Regions from separate parts of the Homo sapiens genome. Here region 1 is linked to region 2. The links are contacts of gene promoters, found by promoter capture Hi-C in human tissues and cell types (Jung and others, 2019). All regions are on one chromosome and are shown on one strand. Each heading gives the region's core, a stretch centred on a gene start or on the middle of the fragment in contact. The rest is flanking DNA. Distances are from core to core; before and after follow the strand shown.

What was found. Contacts are between HindIII fragments. The study calls those that stand out against the background at their distance.
Region 1: a contact is called between a fragment that was not itself captured here and the fragment with the promoter of PDGFRA in region 2, in 2 of the 25 tissues and cell types used here (IMR-90 fibroblasts and aorta).

The regions. Positions count from the first base shown.
Region 1 is chr4:53,574,209-53,581,026 of GRCh38, forward strand. The region is part of intron 1 of LNX1 (ligand of numb-protein X 1); the gene reads right to left. It also overlaps the pseudogene COMMD5P1. Among named protein-coding and RNA genes, the nearest start is that of LNX1, 14 kb to the right of the region's middle. The HindIII fragment of the contact is 3,261 bases long and covers 1,391-4,651 here.
Region 2 is chr4:54,225,391-54,232,586 of GRCh38, forward strand. PDGFRA (platelet derived growth factor receptor alpha) reads left to right here and starts at 3,903. Exons shown (of 23, transcript NM_006206.6): 1 at 3,903-4,025. RefSeq lists enhancers at 1-721, 722-1,547, 2,376-3,201 and a silencer at 1,066-1,253. The HindIII fragment of the contact is 9,376 bases long and covers 1-7,196 here.

The DNA.
Region 1 (6,818 bases), core at 1,771-4,270, 650 kb before region 2:
GTTGAGGGTCCACTCTGGAGTGACTGACAGGACCTTGGGCAAGCCCCATGGCCTCCTCGTGCCTCTGTTTTTCCACGCATGCCAGTGGGAATAATGTTCACCTTTCACATCCTCACATTGGTGTGGTAAGAATCATTTGGGTAATATCTGGGAAATGCCTAAAGTAACTCTAAAAAATGTAATTTGTTAAGAAAATTAAATAGACCAGTGATTTGTAAAATTCTTGTCAGATCAGGACAAGAAAAAAAAAACAAAAAACAGTTAACACTGTGATGGCTTTCTCTTATCTTTCTTCCCCATCTTTCTCCCAAACTCAGAAAAAGTAGGAGATCAGAGCTTTCAACTAAGTCATCTGAGAGAAAATAGTGCTGTTGAGCCTTTCATATTTTCACTATGATAAATGCACTGTTGTCTCCTGTATGCATTTCACTCAGTTGGTCGTTAGTGGCTAAGTGGGCTCTGGACACTTTGCCTGGGTTCAAATCCCACCACTATGGGCCAATGATTTCAGACTCTGTTTTCACATCTGTAAAATGGGGATAATCACAGGCTACTTCATAGAACTCTTGTGAGGATGAAATGAGATATGATATATAAAGCTCTTAGATTTGCATCTACCACATACTAAGTGCTCAATAATTCTTACATGTATTTGTTACTGAATTCATTGTCTCTAGTCTAGCTCTGTTGGCCCAGAAACTGAAAGCTAGAGCTCCTATAAGGGGCCTTTAAGCTTTGTTCTAATAGGACTCTTTTATTCCATTAGATATTTCGTTTTTTTTTTTTCTTTTTAGACGGAGTCTTGCTCTGTTGCCCAGGCTGGAGTGCAGTGGCATGATCTCTGCTCACTACAACTGCCACCTCCCAGATGCAAGTGATTCTCCTGCCTCAGCTTCCTGAGTAGCTGGGATTACAGGCGCGCGCCACCATGCCTGGCTAATTTTTGTATTTTTAGTAGAGACAGGGTTTCGCCATGTTGGCCAGGCTGGTCTTGAACTCCTGGCCTCAAGAGATCCACCTGCTTTGGCCTCCCAAAGTGCTGGGATTACAGGTGTGAGCCCCCATGCCCAGCCTAGATATTTCTTTTAAACAGTAGAATACTACCACAATACATATTTTCCTTTAACATAGATAGGAGTCAACAATAATCAAGTTTTTCAACATGCTTGCTTTGCATCTAGGAAGTCTCTTGCGTAGAAAGTCAATAAATAGTTTTCAAGCGCCAACTCTGAGCTAGGTCATGAGTTTGATATGCAGACCTTTGAGAGAGACTTAAAGGATATGCTTCTGCCCTCAGGGAGTCCCCATTCCAGAGGTGACATGGACACACACACAAGTAGGAGCCCAGTGCAAACTAGGGCTCTGGGTCAACTTTCATGGTGATTAAGAATCCCACCTTGGGACCAGGCCCGCTTTTGGCTGCATTGGCTGGGGATCACTGGCACCAGGTATCTGCATCTGGGACCCACCCCCTGGGCTGGCTAATCAAGGAGGAAGCAGCAGCAGTGTCTGCTGTGGGGGCCACAGCTCTGTATTGCATCATCCTGGTGGTAGTCACAGTGGCCGAGTGAGTTTCTTGGGGGCCCAGCTTCCTCCAGAGGTGGCAGCAATGGACCAGCTACTAGGGGACCTAAACAGGAGCATGTTTAGAAAGTTGCTGAAGTTTGTGGTCAGCAGCCTGCAAGGGGAGGACTGCCGAGAGGCTGTGCAGTGTCTTGGGGTCAGCACCAACCTGCCGCAGGAGTGGCTGGGTGCCCTACTGGCAGGCATGCACACGCTGCTCCAGCAGGCCCTCCATCTTCCCCCCACCAGCCTGAAGCCCAACACCTTCAGGGACCAGCTCCAGGAACTCTGCATCCCCCAAGACCTGGTCGGGGACTTGGCCAGCGTGGTATTTGGGAGCCAGCGGCCCCTCCTTGATTCTGTGGCCCAGCAGCAGGGGGCCTGGCTGCCCCATGTTGCTGACTTTCAGTGGTGGGTGGATGTGACAATCTCCACCAGTGCCCTGGCTCGCTTCCTGCAGCCGAGGGTCCTGATGCAGCTGAAGCTTTCAGATGGGTTAGCATACCGCTTCGAGGTCCCCATAGCCAAGTTCCAGGAGCTGCGGTACAGCGTGGCCCTGGTCCTAAAGGAGATGGCAGATCTGGAGAAGAGGTGTGAGGGCAGCCTGCAGGACTGACCCCTCACATGACCAGTCCTATTCAGGTCAGGCTTGGACAGGCACCTCAGATGGTGCCAAAGTGCAGCTGACTCTTCCCAGGACAGCCCTGCCCTTCCCATGAGGCAGGCTCTTCATCCAGGTGCTTTTGTAGATCTTGTATTTTAGGTTGGGCATTTTCATTCTTCTGCCTTAAATCCCTGACTTCACAGAGCTGACATTCTAGTGGGGCTAAGGGGAGGGGAAACATTATAAAATAAATAATAAAAATAAATTAAAAAAAAAAGAATCCTGCCTCTTCCCTCAGCCCCAACTCAACTTTCCTCTTTTCCAAAAGTAAATTAAAAGACCTTATGCTTTCCACAAGAACATAAAGACACACGAATAACCTAACAGGAAATTAGCCACATTTGGAAACAGCCCAGCAGTCATAAACTGTATTATATCTCTTTTCTTTTCCAAATAAAGTCGGAGGTTGTTTGTGCAAACATAGCCTTATCTCAAAAAGAAAATACATTGACTTCAGGCTTTCATTGAGTCAGCTTTGTTGTTTACATTTCTGTACTGCAGTAATATGCCTGAGAGGACACTCTAGTGAAGAGGTTGCTGGCAAATGCCCTTAATATAAAAACATTTAGAAATTGTAGCATTTTATTTAGCATCAGATAGGACCACAGAAGGCAAAGATAGAGGGTGCAGGAGGGGGTAAAGTTGTTTCAAGGAAATCTGTATCTATGCAGCTGCTGATTGTCCTCAAGGCTGTTAGAAAGTACTGGAATCTCACAGGAAATACTTTAAGTGACATCAGAAACAGTTGAAAAACAAACATGAAAATGGAAATGGGCCATGCAAAAGATTATCATCTACAATCTATAGGGGAAAAATGGTTCACACAGGATGAACTAAAGCTCTAGGTCTTTTAAAGCTTCTCTGTAGTGTTCTGCCATATAGTCCCACATGCTACAGTCTTGGTTATTCTTTCTCATGATGCTGTAGGGGAATATAAATTCAGGCTGCAGTGCGGCCATACCACTGAAAATACAACTGCATGTTTCTGGGCCATTCCCTTGTTGGTGAAATGGTGGCATTGGACCAGATTTTCGTTTTTCAAACTGTGCTGTGGAAGGCATCAGATACTTCCAGATCTTCCAAGGGAGTGGAGATAGGAGGAAACCAAGGGGGAGCTTTGCCCACTCCTCCAGCTCTGCCATTACTATTATTATTATTTTTTAAAGATGGGGTCATGCTATGTTGACCAGGCTGGTCTTGAACTCCTGGCCTCAAGCAATCCTCCCATCTTAGCCTCCCAAAGTTCTAGGGTTACAGATGTGAGCCACCACACCCCGCCTGCCATTATTTCCTTAATGCATCATGTTCCTCTTAATATTCTGGTCAAAGAATCCTAGCTTTTAAAAAAAACTTGCAAACCACCAGACTAGATCGTGTACAACAGTCCCTTCCAGAAATAGAGTTCTATGATTCTGTGCTAATCAAGTGAGGTTTTTATGTTTTGTTTTGTTTTTGATGATTTGATGTTTGGGAAAAATCCTTTTTTCATCTAACAGTTCTTTGAATATTTACCATGCGCCAGGCACTGTGCTAGGGGCCTTATATTATAGTATATTATGTTATTCAATCCTCACAAATGGCATAGGAAACTGAAATGCAGAGGGTAAATAACTTGTCAATCACACCAAAAAAAGAAACAAAACAGGCAGGGGCTGTCTGACTCCAAGTTTCTGCTCCTACTTCCCTACTTTGTCTCCCAGAATCTTTCTTGATTATGGCTAGTCAGAATCCCAATAATGTAACTCATTAAATACAAGAGACCCAGGAAATTAGAAAGCTTTAAATCTCTTCAGGCTCTATTGCAAGTAGAATCATGTGTTGCTTAATGATGGGGATATGTTCTGAGAGGTGCATTGTTAGGCGATTTGGTCCTTGGGTGAACATCATAGAGTGCACTTACACACACCTTCACGGTATAGCTGACTATACACCATATAGATGTGTAGTCTATGGCTCTTACGCTGCAAACCTGTACAGCATGTAACTGTACCAAATACTGTAGGCAACTGTAACACAATGGTAAGTATTTATATATCTAAACATAGAAAAGGTACAGTAAAAACAGTATTTTAATCTTATGGGATCACCATCATATGTGGAGTCTGTCATTGACCAACATGTCGTTATGGGGTCCATGACTGTAGATATGTCAAAGATCTCTGAAGAAAAAGATTCCTTGATTTCACTGAGTGCTGAGGCAGAATGAATGGAATGGAGTAAGCAAAAATGGCAGATTTAGCTCCACCTCCAATTTTCTTTTATCTTTTCCCTTCCTTTCTTTTTCTTTCTGAGAGCAATTTGAATTCCCTGGCACTTACCCATGTGGATAAACCAAATTCTTAATATTATGTTAATGTAAACACTGCTGTATATATTTTCTGACTTTATTTTAGACTAAATAAAGCCTACATGAATAGAAACAGATTATGAGATAATTGACTGAACAAGCAGTTTTGGCTCTAAGGGAAAGAACCAGGTAGACTTAAAAAATATGATTAATATCTCCCTGGTGGTTCTTATTTGCAGTGTATAGCTTATAAACATGTATGATGTATCACGTTTTCAGACATATCAGAGCCTTGCTGCTGAATGGAGAAGAAATTATCAAAAATCATTAAGCCTGAAAAGGTAAGCTAGTTTCTCCCACCAAAAGTAAGAGAGAGGGCCTGTCAGCTTTGTGTCCATATAAATTTACTGAATGTATCAGCCATCAGCATCTCTGGCCCTAACTGAAGTAAGTAGACAGAGCTGTGATACAGTGTTTTGGCAGTTTAGAGTAAGAAAGAGTAGTGGAGTGGATTGATTCCCTCCTTACGTACGTGTATGATGGGTACGGTGGAAATCTTACACTTTTTCAGTATAACCCTGTGGTGCCTTAGGAATCACCCTTTCCTTCTTTCTGATCTGGAATAGGACAGAAACCAGAGGTGATTTTTAGAGATATATGGAGCCAAAACCCCCAATCTAGTGCTGAAAAGCACCCAGAAAAATAAAAACCCCCATCTCTTTTTGGTCCTAATCCCTGCTTCCTTTCCTATGATTTTATTGTCTAGCCTAAAACCTGTATAGAAGCTTCTCTGCCTAATTCTCAAATTTTGAACTTCCTGGATGACAATAAAGACACATACCAGAGCAAAAGCCAGTTGGTGCCGCCTGCAACCAAGAGGGTCATTCGAGATCGTGTGTCTACTGTCAACGCACTAGACAGATTTAAGAACAGCCTTTGGAATACAGCCTGTTTGGAAGTGGAAACATTTCTGCATCAGGTAACTCATCAGAACAATGGGATCCTTGGTGTGCTGTTGTCCTGCTAATTCTCCTTTCAATGCACCCTGGCTTTATAGAAAATGGTTATCAGATGTAGTTGCCAGAATAAACCACATACTCCACTAGAAGGACAATTGGATAAATATAACATTTGGCATGTGGCAACGATAATTTTACGTGTTCTTCCCATTGAAAGGACAAGATTTGACCCTAAAGCATCTCTGAAATTGTTGCCTGAGTCACAGTTTTCTAGTAATAGGAGGAGGATTCCATATTATGAAAAAGAATCCTTCTTTATAGTCACATGGCGGTGTGTCCTGCATTGGCACTTTAACCTTGTCAAAGATGAAACACTATAGCCACAGACTCTGAGTCAAAAGGAAGCCTGACAGATGAGAAAGGCCTTTATTACTTTATAAAATAGATGATTCTACCTTTGGATAGCTTTGATTAATAGAGGAAAAAGTCCACATAATGAGCAAAATTTTCCTTTCCTATACCTCACCTGCCCTTTCCACAAGTGCCACCGTTACCCTAGGAGCTCTTTAGAATATGCCTAACTTTTTAAGTCCTTTAATTATTTGAAGACAGATCCCATGTTCTCCCCCAGGGCGAGTAGCCTCGGGTTCAGTCAGTATTTCTTTCACATCCAAATCTCTTCTGCAAGCTCCCCAATTTATCAGTGTCTCTCCTATAATGTATGGGTAGAATGAACTCCAAAACTCCATGCCAGAGTGAAGTGAGGGAATCTGTTCCCTTGATGTGACTGCCAGACAGCCTGAAACTGCATCCACTTTCTTGCAGCAATAGCACACACTACTGCTGTTACTGGAGTGGGTAGAGGAGGAGACACTGCCCTGAGGCCTGGAGAAAACAATTCCTGGAGGTGGTGGAGGAGGTATATATCTTACGAGTAAAAAGGTAGAAATGAAGAAGTTTTTAAAAACAAAAGCAATGGCTATGAATGAAGCTTAGAAAATGCAAAAATATGTAGTGGCATTAGGTGGATTTATATAAACAGAAGATAGTCTTCAGTGGCTAAATAGTTCAGTACTGGAACTCATAATGTATATCCAATCCTTAGAACCATTGCTATCTGAGGAATGTGGGGCTCTCTTATTTGTTTGTAAACGTTCCTTTACTTTGATAAATCTCATTCCAAAATGTACCAACATAGTAAATAACACAAGAAAAGGGAAATGAAAACCATTTAAACAAATGATAAATCAGACATAATTTTTCCAACCCAGAAGTACAAAAATACTGAAGAACTTCCACTGACATTCACTATAAATGAAAAAGTTTAAACAGTGACAGGCCACAA
Region 2 (7,196 bases), core at 2,653-5,152:
TCCAGTCCTACCAGTCTGTCCCAGGCTCTAAGGAGTGTATGGCCCACCGGGCTGGGCTGGACCAGGAAACAAGCTCTTGTCCTCAGGTCTGTAAACAGGCTGCGTTGTTAGGAACCCTCTGCTTCTACTTCCTGAAGAGCAAGCCCCCCAAACCCAGAAGAGAGGCTGCACCTTGAGATCCAGCCAGCAAGGTGGGTGCGGAGTCCTGGGGAGGGAACTTTCACCTCAAGCTGCACAGACCCATCTCGATCTTTTTAGAGAATTCCTCCTTTTCCAGGACTAGTGCCGTTCTGAATTCTGAGCGTGCAAAGAGACTCCTTAGAGCTAGCTTCCGAGCCTCAGCTGGGGCAGACCAGAGGCCAGGGCGTCTCTCTGTCTGCGGGGACCCCCCACATCTGTGCGTCACCTCCACCACCTCCGGGCAAAGGACCCTTCCTCGCTGGACCCAGGGAGGCGGCTATTCCAGATGCAGCCAAGGGTTAAAGGGGGTGGGAGAAGGAGCAGTTAGCACCGTTTTCTTTTGCAAACCACCAAACGGGCCCTTCATTTTCAAATTGTGAAGCCAGAAACATCCCCCGTTCCCTTGCCCCGCCCATCACCATTTGAAAAAAAGAATTCACAAGTTTAAACGTGATTTTCACAACTAACGGCTTTGATAACTGTTAAATTCGTACGGCTTCTAGGGCAAACGGACCTGAATTCTTCAAGGAAAGTAGAATTGGCGGTGGAGCTGGGGGGCAGAGGAGGAGAAGACACAAAAAGCCAACTCAGTGGGAAGCGCCCTCAAAGCCAAAGGTGTGGCGCTCGGAGCTGTGGCCGCCCTCGCCCGGGAGTCGGGGCCAGGAGAACGGGCCCTGGAGGCAGGGCAGGGCACGGCGAGATTTTGCTTTTGTTTTTAGTGACCATTTTGATCTGGTTGTAAAAAGTTTACGAGGCCTTCTTTTTGAAAGTCAGCTAATCGACTGCACCTTTTTATACCCTTGCCCTCAATTTCATGTCGCCTGCTGGCCTAGACGCGCAAGGCGGAGGACAGAACTGTCACAGTCCCTACCCTTTTCTCCCAACTTCTCGGCCCGGCTCAATTCGGGAGTTGGGCCTCCTTCCTCTCGGCTCGCAGCCTCCCCGACTCCCACTTTGGGGAGAAAACCCACATTCTTAACCCCTTGATAATCCCTCAAGGAAAAAACAAAACAAAAAACCCCAAGAGGTTGAAAATTAGAATCCGGGCGCGGGTTGAGATCTGCGCAGAGCTGCCCAGGCCAGTGCATGTCGCTCCTCTCCTCCGGGTACATATGGTGGCCTGGTCCCCTCCCCCCACCCCCCACACGGTGCCCAGTGAGAAGCACAAGAAGGGGAGAAAAGACCCGCAGCCCGCCTCAGGAGGGCAAGGTTTCTAGCCCCCTGCGGCTCCGGGACCACCCAGGACCCGGGGCGTCGTGGGACCGATCTCGAAGGATCTTAGAACGACACTGGGAGAGCGCGGCAAGAACTAGCCCCACCTTCCCCCGACGCCCCGGACTGACTGCCGGGCGCAGACCCGACTTCTCCCGAACCAGCCTCGGACCAGCCTTAGAAGGCGGAAAACAGGATTCAAACCCGCCTATGAGCAGTGGTAGGGGCGGGGGCTGTGGGGGCAGGACTCGGTTTAAGGAACCAACCGCCTCGGTTCGAGGGCCTCCTGTCCGGAGGTTGCTCCTGACCACTGGGTTTATTTTGCTTTTGCAGAGGAGGCAGATGTTGACCTCTCTTCTTTGCACAGTCTCTCCGCAAAATTTTCCCCCAACCATTTGCTTTCTTGCGCCACCCCCCACCGGGGCACTATCCCTGGAGTCAGCTCCTCAGGCCTTTAAACCTTCCAGAATGTCACACATGGAAACCTTTAGCAAATGTTTGTTAATGATCATAACAAAGGCATCATTCAAATTAGGCAGGTAATTACTACCAGAAGGACAACTGGGTGCTCGCTTGCTCATCCATTGCTTTCTGCTTTAAACTCCCGAGGAGTCGCTGCCTGGAGACACTCCCGCCCGGACTGCTTCTCGGGCCCCATTAAACGGCTCTGAAATGAACTGTGAAGTTACCATTTGTGGGCGGAGAGCGCTGGGGCCCTGCGGACGGAAGACCCTGGCTTGACCGGACTAACAGTGTCGCCGAAGCAAAGCAGCCCCTCTGGGTAGGCTGTCTGTCTCGCCTCCTACCCTCTGGGGCAACTAGCCTAAAAACCCGGTTCTCAACTTAACAGCATGTGGCCCAGCACCCGCTTTTGCCTTTTATTCCGCACTCTGATTTTTGGGGGGATCGTTTGTTCCCGCTCATTTTCTACAAACATTACGGTATCCTGTTAGCATTCCGAACAAGGGGCTGTTCATATATTTGCCTTCAATGATTTCCTGAAGGGACATGTGGAAGTAATAGCGAGCGGTGCAGTCACCCAAGCTGAAGATGCACGAGAGCGGGTCGCGTAGAAGAACTGCGGCAATGGGACCCCCAGCGCAGCCCCAGGCGCCCTGTTTTCGAGGCTGACATCCCAAGATCCTGTCCTGGTTAGGCACAGCACCGCGCCCGTTGGAGTACTTCTCTGTGACTCTCCCCTGTCCACTGCACTGTGTCCACCCTCCTGGTGAAGGAGGAGACGGCTGTTGGACATGCCAGTCCCAACCTGGCCACTTTGGCCATTTTCAGAGTGCGTGTGTTGGGGTGGGGTTGAGGGAGAAGGATGAAGGATGACCCCCAACCCCAACAGGAGAATTCAAAAATCAGAGAGCGATGAAGGTGAACGCGCTCCCCTCCCCCGCTGTCGCTGGGAAGCCCCACTCTGCCCAGGTCTGGTTCCTGGAGCATCAGCGCCCCCTTTCCCTCGCCGGCAGGATCGTTTCCTCCCGACACTGGCCTCTCGCCTTGGGCGCAGGGTTTGGGGCTCAGCTGTCAATTCCAAGGAATTCGTAGGGTTCGACCCACGCGGCGGGAGGGAACGGAGGGAGAATCAAAAGGCATCCTCCCCCACGACGCGGAGGCGGTGGTACGATTCCTCAAACGCCCAAGCTTGAGCTTTTTTTGTATGCGAGATAGAAGCCAGGGCAACCTCGCCCAGATAACCCCGAAAACAAAGGCACGACCAGATAAGTGACTTCAAGGGAGTAAAGGTCGTTCTATCGGAGAACGTTCCAAACCTACACAGACCCTCTTTTCTTTGTACCGTATTTCAGACCACCCAGTCTTGTACACACACACACACCACACAAAACAAAAACCCATCATTGTCATATTGGACTCAACAGTTTGCCCAATCCTATTAAATAACTAGCAACTATATAGCCCTTCCCCTAAAAGACCCCTAGTTCAAAACGGCGCAACCGCTTGGAGATTTCTCCCGAGGGCCCTATTTCTCGTTGGGCCGAGTTTGTAGAAGGGACATTTCTTGATTCTAGATTTATATTCTCTCTGGGTATTAAATGCAATTTTGTATGTTCCTTTTCTTCTTTTCAAAGAGAATACAAAACTATAGCAGTCTAAGAAAATAACCCCAAAATGGGGAGGCAAACTCATTCTGGAAATGATGGGCTGTTTGTAGTTTCACAAAACCTCTTTCCCGGCAGAGCACCAACACCTCCCCCTTCCACCACCCCCCATCCCATCTGGTCTGCTTCTCCCCGCCCCCCAGTTGTTGTCGAAGTCTGGGGGTTGGGACTGGACCCCCTGATTGCGTAAGAGCAAAAAGCGAAGGCGCAATCTGGACACTGGGAGATTCGGAGCGCAGGGAGTTTGAGAGAAACTTTTATTTTGAAGAGACCAAGGTTGAGGGGGGGCTTATTTCCTGACAGCTATTTACTTAGAGCAAATGATTAGTTTTAGAAGGATGGACTATAACATTGAATCAATTACAAAACGCGGTTTTTGAGCCCATTACTGTTGGAGCTACAGGGAGAGAAACAGAGGAGGAGACTGCAAGAGATCATTGGAGGCCGTGGGCACGCTCTTTACTCCATGTGTGGGACATTCATTGCGGAATAACATCGGAGGAGAAGGTAAGGGAAAAGAAAAAATGATTTTTTGTTTATAAGGGAAGTCCCTGATCAGACTCTGGGACTGGAGAAAGCGAAGTAACTTCAAACTTTGGGCGACAAGAAAAAAAAAAAGGAGCTGGATTCCAGTTGTGTGTCCAGAGAGTAATTTTTTTTTTTCGGAATAAACTTCACTTGGGGACGGGTGGGAGATAACCATAGAGTTAGAAAGTCTAGGTATTTTTTTTAAACACACATTTTCCAGACCTATTTTTAAAAACAATGTTTTTCTAACAACCCTATGGCCTCCCAAAGAAATTGTTTAGGCTTACATTTTTGAGGTTTCTTTTGGGAGTGGGGGTGGTGTTCGTGAATACTGGGCCGAACACCAAGGAACTGGGGGTGGAGGCAGAGGTGTTTGCCCTCTTCTTGGCAGTGGGTCCTGGAAGGCGACAGGTTTTAAATGAGTGTTTTCATTCCTCGCCTGCGGTTTGGCGGGACAGCGCTGCAGCCCATGGTGTGGAGCGCGGCTGGGGGACCAGGGGGAGGTGGGGAGAGGGGAGCGTGGAGGGGAGCGTGGAGGGGGGCGCGCGAAGGGGTTGCGGGGCGCAGGAGGCGGGCTGGGCTCGGCTGGAGACCGGACCTCGGTGTTGGCCTACAGCACAGGGAGCCGGCCGAATGCGCGTGATTACTGGACGGCGCTGCTCTGGGAGAGAGTCGGGGCCAGATTTGGCGCGGCGGTGAGGCGGCTGCGGGACAAGCAGAGGCGCGCGGGCGTGGGCAAGGGTTTGGGGCGCTCTGGAGCGGTTTGTTGGGTCAGTGAGGTGCCAGGGAGAGCGGGTGCCTGCCGGGCAGTGTGCTCGGGTTGCACGCCCTAGCGCGGGGGCGACAGCGGCGGCGCGGGCGGGCGGTCTGGAATAATGACAAACACATTTGGCCCTGAGTGAAGAAGTCGTCGTCGCCTCGCATTCCAGCAACTGGGATTTGAGGAATTTCGAACCGCACACCAAGGGGCCCTCATTGTGCTCCGTGGCCCCCGCCCCCGCCTGTCTTCCCGCGCCCCCTCCTCGGTGGAATCATTTCTGCATTGCCCGGGGGCTCTGCTTTCGCTCAGTTCTGGCCGCAGGCAGGAAGAGAGGAAAGGTCTCCAGGAAGGTGCCGAACTTCTTGTGAGGAAGTTAGGGACGACTTGGAACTGGGGAAACTTGTTTGCAGGTAAGACAGAAAGGTGGGAGGTAAACCATATTCTCCCTCCGGGCACCCGAGCCCTGGACACCCCCTACCCGGCACCCTTCTCCGCGCGGGGGTGCGTGGCACTTGCCGTCTGAGCTCGCCCAGCGCTGCTCGGTCCTCTCTAGTTGGCCTTTTTTCCATTCCTCTCCCTGCCGGCTTCAGAGCCGTCTGTGCGTACTTCTCCTTCCTCTGCTGTCTACCCCCATGGAAACCAGATTTACACACGAAATTAACTCCGCCCGGCTGCGCCCAGGGAGCGGGCGGCGTCCATTTGGCATTGAATATGTGGGATCAGCTGTTCTATTCCGGGAGGGTGTCGGCCAGGTCGGAGCGACGAGTGTGGCCCAACCCGAGTACGTTGCCAGAGGGAGCCAGGAGCCTGGGCCGGGCCAGGTGTGCGAGAGCTGCCGATGGCCTGGCCTCGCGTCTTGGTCGGGAAGGACTTGCTGGCCTGGCAGGCTGTGCGTTGTGCATCCCTCCCGCAGCCAGAGCGCCGGTCCCGCACTTCGCTCCCCGAATTGTGCTAAGACCTCAGGATGTGCGCAAGGAGTGCCTGGAAGAACTTGCCACTCACTCCATCTTCCTGGGTGGGAGGCAAGCATGGATGGGGCCCATATCAGGTCCCTACCGCCCCGCGTCCGAAAAGCCGCGGGCTGGGCGGTGTGGGAAATGGCTTTTTGGCTCCGAGGCCAAATTGCTCAATGTTTTGGACCGACTCGCCTCGCCGCGGTCGCTCCTGACAAGAACTAGACAGATTTTTGGAGCAGGGAGCATCCAGGGCAAACGCACGACAGTCCTCCGCAGTGCATCTCACCGGACAAACATCCCCGGAGCCACAGGAGGGGAGGAAGGGGCTCTCCGGGCGTGCGCACCTCCCCAGCCGCCGCGCTGTCCCATCCCCGACCCCTAATCTGGTCAACCTGGACCCCGGCACTGCTGAATTGCATCCCCTCTTCTCCCTTTCTCCTCGGCCTCCTCCTTTCCACAACCCTCAAGATGAGGAGGCCCTGCCTCGACTCCCCGACAGGCGCAAGGCCGACCAGGCTCGCTTTGACGCCCTGGTCAGGCCCTGCTTCGGAGCTTGCAGTTTTGGGTTGACCCAAGTGCAGCTGGACCTCGTTCACAAGAGTGAGGGGAAGCCAAGAATGAACCCGTCGTTAGCCCCCGGTGCCCTGGCTCTTGTTTAAATCCTTAGATCGAGAAGGACTTGAAGGAGATCCCAGGCTCCCAGCTCTGCGCCCCTGGGCCAGTTTCCTCTCGGGACGCGGACTGAGGAGGGATGCAGGGGGAGGGGCATTGGGCCGGGCTTTCCAGCTGCAAACACGTCTGGCGCCGAGGCGGGCCCATTTTGTGCCTCCTGGGGACGGACCGTGGGCGGCGCGCAGCGGCGGGACGCGTTTTGGGGACGTGGTGGCCAGCGCCTTCCTGCAGACCCCACAGGGAAGTACTCCCTTTGACCTCCGGGGAGCTGCGACCAGGTTATACGTTGCTGGTGGAAAAGTGACAATTCTAGGAAAAGAGCTAAAAGCCGGATCGGTGACCGAAAGGTGTGGGTCTCAGGGTTCCCCGGGTCTAACTCGCCGGGTCCAACCGCAGCATCAGCCTTGGGGCGGCAGATAATCTTTCGGTCTCGCCTGGGGCGCAAGATGCAGGATCGGGGGCAAATGGCTTCTCCCAACTTCCCCCTAATTCGGGTTCTGCCAGATGGTTGTCGTTTGCTGAAGTGGCTCGGCGGCATTTCCTTTTGTTTTAAACTGATCAATGAGCGAACCTGGGATGGGCTGAAAAAGTAGATTGTAGGAGGGAATAATGGGAAACCCGACTTGGGGCGCCTCCTTCCCTGCCTCCTACTGCAGTTTCTCGGCCCCCGCGAAAGGGGAGCGACAAGCGCGGGTGGGCGCGGACTCTTGAGGGGGCAGAGGCGGCTATGGCGCGTGTCGGGCAAGGTGGCACCAGAAGGCA